3 separate regions of the Homo sapiens genome follow, and all the other regions are linked to region 1. Evidence: promoter capture Hi-C in 16 types of primary human blood cells and fetal thymus (Javierre and others, 2016). All regions are on one chromosome and are shown on one strand. Each heading gives the region's core, a stretch centred on a gene start or on the middle of the fragment in contact. The rest is flanking DNA. Distances are from core to core; before and after follow the strand shown.

Region 1 (2,774 bases), core at 137-2,636:
GCTGGAATCCAGGCACACAGGTAGGGTGGTAGGCGGCGTGCCTGGAAGGTGACCACCTCCTGCCACTTGGCACAAGAGTGTAGCCCTGTCATCTGGGTGTCCCCATGCCGCCAGATTACTCGGGTTGTCATAACTACCTATCTATAACCCAATAAACCCTCAGGGGCAAAGGGCACCACCAGATGCTAAGGAAATCTTGGTACGATCTAAACTGAGGGTGGGGGCTGGAGGTGTCTTACAAGAACTTGCATCTAATTTTTGCCAGCCAAAAGAATTAAAAACTAGATACTGAGAATGTTTCCTTTGGAAAGGCTGCTCCAGACTGTTAGGAATCTGGGCTTTCTGATTCAGTCTCTTGCCTTTCCAGCACCTAAAATCTTGCTGGAGGGACAGTGAGAGAAGAACCCACTGGTCTCTCAAGGTCTACCCGCTGGTGACATGAGTGACTGGGGGAGCTGACACAGCTGTGTCCCTGGGGAACCTCCCGGGTTGGCAATAAAATGGGGCAGTAATGCTCTGACAATCAGCTTGCAGTGGACTGCCTGCGGAACTGGAGATGAAAGCCTTCGTAAAGCCCCAAGCCCTTTTACTGTGTGTACGCGTACCCCTGGCGTCCTCTGCCCCATTTCCCTAAATACCAACCTCAGGTGCCCTCCGCCCACCTCCCGGAAGCTGCCAGGTCTGGGCAGAAAACCAAAACAACCCTTGGGCCTTTGTCTCCCCCCTAAAGGCCAGCTGGGGCAAGAGGGAGCGAGGGCCCGCCCAGGCACCGGCTGGGGAAAGGCTGTTTGATGTAGGGCCACCTCCCGGGGTGAGGATGCAAGGGGACCTCGGCAGGAACCAAGTGAGGAAACTGAGGCTGGGTGGTCTGGGCAGCGCCCCGCTCGGGCTCGGGTCCCCGCGGGGTCTGTGCTCCAGCCACGGGTCTGGCAGACCCTCACGCAGGAGTCCCAGGGGTCCCAGTGGCCGTCCCTCGGAGCCGGGCACCCGTTGTCCTTCGGATCCTAGGACGTGCCACCCCTCGAACCTCAGGACCCGCCGTCCCTCAGACCCCGGGCACTGACACCCCTCAGACCCCGAGCACCCCCGCCCCTCGGACCCAAGGACGTGCCGTCCCTCAGACCCCGCGCACTGACACCCCTCAGACCTCGGGCACTGCCGCCCCTCAGACCACGGACACAGCTGCCCCTCAGAACCCATGCACCCGGGCCCCTCAGACATAAGGACTCGCTGCCCTTCGAGCCGAGCACCCAGCGCCCAGTCAGGCCCCCAGCCGCCCTCAGCCTGGCCCGGCCGCGCCGCTCACCCTGCTGCCCGGAGGAATCTGCCATGGCTGGGAATCCCGGACCCGCAGCTGCGGCTACAGACACTTCCTAGAATCTGATGCAACCGCCGCCCCGGAAGTCGCGCCCCACGCCGGGCCCGTCTTCCGGGACACGCCCGGTCGCTAGGCAACTACCAGGGGCTCCGGATGTCGCCGGCCCGGAGCATGCTGGGAGCTGTAGTTCAACCCAATGGCGACCCGCGCTCCGGAGCATCGCGCGGCCAAGCGTTCAGTGGCCGTGCTGGGAGTAGTCAGCCCAGCCGCGGGGAGACAAGCACTAAAGACTGAGCGTCCTGTAATAGGTGTTTAAGTCATGATTGCGCTAAGCGCCGTGGGGACCAGGCCCAGCCTGGAGGTCAGAGGCGGCCTCGGGACAGGGTGTGCTGGCGAGACGGGATGGTTCCCAGGAGGCCGACCTGGAGCAGGGCCTGGGGATGGGCGGGAAGAGCGCTCCAGGCCTAGGGACCGCCCTGCCAATGACCCTGCGGAAAGCAAGCCACTATGAAGTGTTGCGTGAACAGGCTTCTCCATCTCCTTCTCAGACCCCATTCTGGAGCCATCCCCAACCCCCTTAGGGCTCCTGCCTTCTGTGTGCATGATGTCACCTCCCAAGGATATCCCACCCAAGGTTCGTGCACCCATCCAAAATGAGAGGAAATGCTATTTAAGAAACAGAATTTTAATATGTCAAGAAAAATTATTAGCCAGGATTAGTGGCTCATGCCTGTAATCCCAGCACCTTGAAAGGACAAGGCAGGAGGATCATTTGAGTCCAGGAGTTTGAAGCTGCAGTGAGCTACGACTGTGCCACTGCATTCCAGCCTAGGCGACAGAGTGAGACCCTTTCTCAAAAAATAAAAAGTAAAAAATCTTCTAGTTACTTTTTGGAACCTCATGTCTAATTTCATAATAAATTCTAAGGCCGGGCACGGTGGCTCACACCTGTAATCCCAGCACTTTGGGAGGCCGAGGTGGGCGGATTATGAGGGCAAGAGATCGAGACCATCCTGGCCAACATGGTGAAACCCTGTCTCTGCTAAAAATGCAAAAATTAGCTGGACATGGTGGCGCTTGCCTGTAGTCCCAGCTACTCAGGAGGCTGAGGCAGGAGAATCGCTTGAACCAGGGAGGTGGAGGTTGCAATGAGCCGAGATTGCGCCATTGCACTCCAGCCTGGCAACAGAGTGAGACTCCGTCTCAAATAAATAAATAAATAAATAAATAAATAAAATAATAAATAAATAAATTCTAAATTCTACTGGTGGCTGGAAAAAAAAAAGAAGAAAGAGTTTGTTTACATTTCTGCAAAGATCCTGTAGCATGTGCTGTAACTTGCCCAGGATGTGGGAGGCTCTGTGAGACCCCAACTAATCCCAAAGGAGGGACCAAGTCCAGGACTTAGGGGACGAAGTTCTGGCCAGGTCCTACCATGACTCTCACAGTGCCTGTT
Region 2 (2,774 bases), core at 77-2,576, 110 kb before region 1:
GTTCCTTAACAAAAAGAGCCCCAAAGTCCCTTCTTTGCACCTTTTCCAAACACGCACAAAGAAAAGTTTATTTATGTTGTCAGTTAAATCATTACCTTACCTTAAAAGAATGAAACACTTGGAAAGTCAAGTTGCTCTACTGAGGAGTCTATGTAAATAAGACACAGCTTGAGACAGCTGGAAAAGCTTCTACTGAGTATGTACACTCAACACTCAAATTATAGACACAGTGTCTGAATAATCATTCCACTATTTTTCTGACACATTTTAAACTTTCTAATTAGGGAATAATGAATATTGTTAACACTACTGCCTCAAAGTGGGGAACATTTTTAAAAGTCTAAGAGTGCAGCATAATAAGTAGGTCTGGGTGGCCCCAAAGTTACCAACCTTGGGGTTAATTTCCGCATCATCCTCGTCTTCTCCCTCCTCGTCACCTTCTAATTCCTGTATTTAAAAAGTGAGAATTAGCTGGAATGACAAGATTTAAACTCTTGTGGCATTCACAATCCACAAACACAAGGAGCAAAACACTGCCTTAGATGGAAATCAATTACTGCTACCCACAAGTGACTCATCACTTCCTTTGGACACTTAGAATTATTTCTAGGTATCTTTTTGTTCTCACAGAGAGCCCTGAAAGAAACAAAATTCTGAAAAAGTAGATTTTGTTAAATGATTATTTTCTAAGATACATTTTCATGAACCAACTGCAGGGTCAAAAACGATGGAAACTGTCACAGCATTTGCTATGCATTTCTGCTTAGTGTTTTAAGAACATTCTTAGAATCAAAGACAGCGTCACAAAAAATGGGTTTAACACAGCCCTGTGAGTCCATAACCTTCAAGCAGAGAAAGCCAAAGAAACAACTTCAGGGAGGTAAGTGGCACTGCATAAACCTGTCTCTTACCTCCTCTTCTCCTTCTTCACCTTCTTCAAACTGGAGAAACACAGAAAAACATTTTTAGGTTTACAAAACATGACAGCAGCCTGCCCAAGACACCAGTCCCATCAAGTGACTCACTGACCAAGCCTAAGAGGAGCAGAAAGTCCAGCCACGCTGCCTGCTGGGCCTCGCTTGCCTGAGGAGCCATTTGCTTGTGTGCAGCGCATTTTAAAAGCATGCCAGGAAATTGAAAGTCACGCAAAACAAGGAATAGGATAGGAAGCTGGTCAGCCAGGGTGTACCCTGGACACAGCTGGGAACCTGGCACCACAGCTCTGCCCTGGCTGTTCTCACACCGAGGAGCAGGCACACAGGAAAAGATTTTTGTAAACCGATGAATTTGTTTTCCTTAAATTTTCTACAAGGCTGATCGAACCAGCAGCATAATGTTATTGGATACAGGAATCTGGGTATCATTTTACATCTCATACAAAGGGAAAAGAAACCTTAGTAGAAATATATTAAAACTTTGGTGTTTAATCTTTAAAGTGATCAATAAGGTGCTCAAAGGTGAACCTCCACCATTAGTCAATTGTCTTGAATCAGTTTCTCCTACATCCAAATACATCATTGGTCAGACTAAAAATCAAGTTTCAAACATGAGACTTACACCAAAAGCAAAACCACCTTATCACTACTGGTTGCATAACAAGGGTAGTGCATGAAAATGCAGCTTCATTTATCAACATTTCCCATTTTGTTGAGCTCACACCATGTATTTGCTTAGAGCCAACTTCGGTGGAACTTAGAAGGGCCCTACTGTGCTGGTGTGGAGTTCACACAGTGTGCACAGCCTCCTGGCGCCACGCAGCAGCCAGGATGAGATGTGGCCACGGTGCAGCGCCCTTCCGCTCTAAGGACCCTAACTGGCATCAGGCAGGGAAAGGCTTCTCAATATTCTTCCATTTCACGTCAGATCCAACGAGCCTCCAGCAGGCTCCAGGGCCTATTCCAAGGCTCTAAGGACAGCATTTTGCCCTTAAGGGGCTGTGCACAGGGGCTGCTCCAGATGCATCACCCACCTGGGCAGAGCAGGAGCTGCCACGTGCAGAGAAGACAAGACCAGGGTTCCCACATTCACCTCCTCCTCCAACAACTTTCTAGTGTTGGGGTACGGTCTAGAAAGTAACATTAGTAAAACACTTTATGCCAACACTTACTGAGTCATTGCTCTGTGCCAGGTGCTATGTTAAGGGCTTAACAAGTAACCAGAGTCTTTACCATGAGCTCTACTTACAGCTGAGGAAACTGAAGCTCAAGGAGGTGGTGGAGCTACTAAAGGGAGAATGGGGATGCGAGTCTGAGCAGTCTAATCTGAGCTGGCACTTCTAGCCTCTAACTGACACTGCTCATCAGTAGTACCTGTGCTGAACGTATTGTGAATGAAACGCACATGTACTATAAGCAAATGTGGCACAGTGCTCACCAGCAGTACAGATACCGCATATAAGTAAGCAAATAGCACACATGCATATTCAAGTCCTTTAAACTGACGGGTGTATGATCAAAACAGTTTCAGATAAGCTTTCCAATGTGTAGCCACTAGCCCTTAGCTCACTATTTAAATTTAAACTAAGGTAAATGAAATGTTCAGTTCTTCAGTCTCAGCAGCCATATTTCAAGTCCTCAAGTGGTCAGTCCTACTGCACTGGACCAAGCAGGCAGAGGACAGTTCCATCAACAGAGAAAGTTCTACTGGAAAGTGCTGGTCTAGAATTTGTAAAACTATGTCTTGGCAGCTACCTGACTGTCCATGTTCCCTGACCTGCAATCACCTCCCAACCTAGGGATGAGCCAGCAAGTTGAGTTTTAGAAGTTAAATGAACA
Region 3 (2,774 bases), core at 119-2,618, 78 kb before region 1:
ATTAGAGAATGGTATTGCTCCAGTGTTAAGTTTCTTGGTAATGACATTGTAGAATTGTTTTAGGAAAATAGATATCCACCACTTGCTTTCAAACAGTTTGGAGGGAGTGGGGAGTACAGATATAGTTTTTTTTAATGGTGGAAAAATATCACATCTGTGAATTTATGAACAAAATGACATTCTTAGGATTTGCTTTCCAAAGGAAGGAAAGTAAAGGGTATAGACTTAAAAAAAAAAAAAAAAAATGGCCAGGAGCAGTGGTCTGTGCCTGTAGCCCCAACTACCTGGGAGGCTGCGGCAGGAAACTGCTTGAGCCCAGGAGTCCAAGACCAGCCTGGGTAACACAGCAAGGCTCCATCTCAAAAATAAGAAAAAAGACTGGTCATTTGTTAATCAATACTAAAGCTCACTGATGGTAGCTACAAGAAGGTAGACTGTACTATTACTCTCTTTACTACTGTAGAGTCTGAATTCCTATAATAAATACATCTTTTGTTAATGAGATACTGATTTTTCATTTTAATTACTCTAGCTTTCCTAAAACCACTGCAGTACAGGAATCCTTTACTTGCATTAATAAATGTTTCCAGAGAGAGGAACGTTCCCCATACTGGATGCAAACTCTCCATGTGCAGTGGACTGACCTGTGTTACTTGCATTTTTAGCAGCTTCCACGGAATCTGAAGGAACCCCATCTGAAAAACTAAAACAACAGTATGTTTAAAAAGTATTACTGTAAAGAAAGTTCCAAAGACATAGCACAAATGGACATGTTTCTTATTCAATATATTAAGAGGTATCTGTACAGTGACGTCAGATTTGGGCAGAAGAAAACTACCAATGTGCATGTTATCTCAGAGGCTGTCCTCTCTGCTATAAAAATATTCTACTACGTAACATCCCCTCTCCTCTCCCAAACATAAAGCCCTACAAAGTTCTTATTTCCAACCTTAGCCAAAGCTTCTTAGCTCTCATTTCTACAGCTTCTTTCCTCAAAAAATCTGCTCCCAGCCCTCAAACCAAACCCATCAACCAACGAACATGTTACTGTTTGGTCAGCTGCTCATGTGATCAGAGCAAGGCAGTCTTACCAAGTTAAGACAGTGCCCAAAGTGGCTTTGTAAAATTAGCCACAACAAGTGTAAAATGAGCCATGAAACAGTTTTTAAAGATGCCTGGACACACCTCCCTCACAAAAAATAAACATCAAATAATATACACAACTAAAAGTAACCCTCAATCCACAAAACAAAATCTTCCACTTGATCACTGACAACTACAGACTGTTAGGAGAGTGTCAAAATTACCTAACTTCACCCCAGGGGTGTTAAAGCATGGAGAGCAAAACGATTGCTTTCCATAAAAGATCTGTAGTGTCAATGTCTGAGGCACTGTTCATGTCGGAAGTAATTTCTTTACGTGCTCAAATACATACACAAGAAATGAGCCATCAGCTAGACGCTGAAATGCATTTAACTTTGATTCTAATTATTTATTGAAAAATGGCTTGGCTGTTGCTCACCAACTGAATTTTAAACTCCAATAAACAAAGTCCACTTTGGCTTACCTGTGATCTGCCATCTGAATGTTTTTATCCCCTATAAATTAAAAAGAGTTGTAATAATTATATTCATAAGCAAAAATGTTTGTTCAATATACTTTTTAAACAACGGTTATCTGTGGGATGGAGTCCACTAGAAGGGACAGGAGGGAACTTTCTAGAGTGATGAAAATGTTCTAGATCTTGACTGAGGTTACCTGAGTATATACACTTGTTAAAGCTTATTAAACTATACACTTCAGATCTGTGCATTTCATCACACACAAACTTTACTCATAAAAAAATTTCTCGGCCTGGCGCGGTGGTTCACGCCTGTAATCCAAGCACTTTGGGAGGCCGAGGTGGGTGGGTCACTTGAGCTCAGGAGTTCGAGACCGGCCTGACCAACATGGTGAAACCCCATCTCTACTAAAAATACAAAATTAGCTGAGCGTGGTGGTGCACGCCTGTAATCCCCGCTACTCAGGAGGCTGAGGCAGAAGAATCACTTGAACCCAGGAGGCGGAGGTTGCAGCGAGCGGAGATCATGCCACTGCACTCCAGCCTGGGCAACAAGAGTGAAACTCCATCTAAAAAAAAAAATAAAATAAAATAAAATTATCTTATTGGCACTAAAATAACCAGACTTCAGAATAACATTAATTCTAATTTGCCTTATTTTTTATAATACATTCGGCAACACAAACATACATTAATGATAGCCCAACCATTTTAGAGTAAGTCAAAGCATTTACTGGTGTTTACACTTTCAAATTAACTTATGGGATTATTTTCTAATTGCATTTGTTTATTCCGTATCTTCCATTACTTCTACACTGAGGATGTATTGCTTGTGTAAAAACCTTGTGTAATATACTCAGTATTATTCCACTTTTAAAGATGATTATTTCTATATTGGTAGAATTAGATGACATTGTAACTGAATATTAAGGGTGTGTTCTAGGGCATTTACTTCTTAAATAGAAGAACTTGATATTAATAAAACTAAAAAAAAGTTATCATTTTTTTTGAGACAGGATCTCAGTCACCAAGGCTGCAGTGTAGTGATGCAATCCTGGCTCACTGCAGCCTCAACTTACTGGGCTCAAGCAATCCTCCCATCTCAGCCTCCTGAGTAGCTGGGACAACAGGCGCAGGCCACCATGCCCAGCTAATTTTATTTTTTGTAGAGATAGGGTCTGGCTAAGTTGCCCAGGCTGAGTCCCAAACTCCT

What was found. The method cuts DNA at HindIII sites, captures the fragments that hold promoters and counts their contacts. A CHiCAGO score of 5 or more calls a contact.
Region 2: a fragment that was not itself captured here is called in contact with the fragment with the promoter of CARS1 in region 1 in 1 of 17 cell types (total CD8 T cells); the score reaches 5.9 in total CD8 T cells.
Region 3: a fragment that was not itself captured here is called in contact with the fragment with the promoter of CARS1 in region 1 in 2 of 17 cell types (naive CD8 T cells and naive CD4 T cells); the score reaches 5.7 in naive CD8 T cells.

The regions. Positions count from the first base shown.
Region 1 is chr11:3,056,037-3,058,810 of GRCh38, forward strand. It overlaps CARS1 (cysteinyl-tRNA synthetase 1), which reads right to left and starts at 1,387. Exons shown (of 23, transcript NM_001014437.3): 1 at 1,307-1,387. The coding sequence starts at 1,331. It overlaps LOC124902615 (a long non-coding RNA gene), which reads left to right and starts at 2,588. Exons shown (of 2, transcript XR_007062555.1): 1 at 2,588-2,774. RefSeq lists an enhancer at 1,041-1,573. The HindIII fragment of the contact is 6,695 bases long and covers 1-2,774 here.
Region 2 is chr11:2,950,869-2,953,642 of GRCh38, forward strand. NAP1L4 (nucleosome assembly protein 1 like 4) reads right to left here. Exons shown (of 16, transcript NM_005969.4): 13 at 912-941; 14 at 391-447. Among named protein-coding and RNA genes, the nearest start is that of SNORA54, 12 kb to the right of the region's middle. The HindIII fragment of the contact is 2,285 bases long and covers 185-2,469 here.
Region 3 is chr11:2,977,640-2,980,413 of GRCh38, forward strand. It overlaps NAP1L4 (nucleosome assembly protein 1 like 4), which reads right to left. Exons shown (of 16, transcript NM_005969.4): 2 at 1,568-1,598; 3 at 645-703. The coding sequence starts at 1,581. Among named protein-coding and RNA genes, the nearest start is that of NAP1L4, 13 kb to the right of the region's middle. The HindIII fragment of the contact is 821 bases long and covers 959-1,779 here.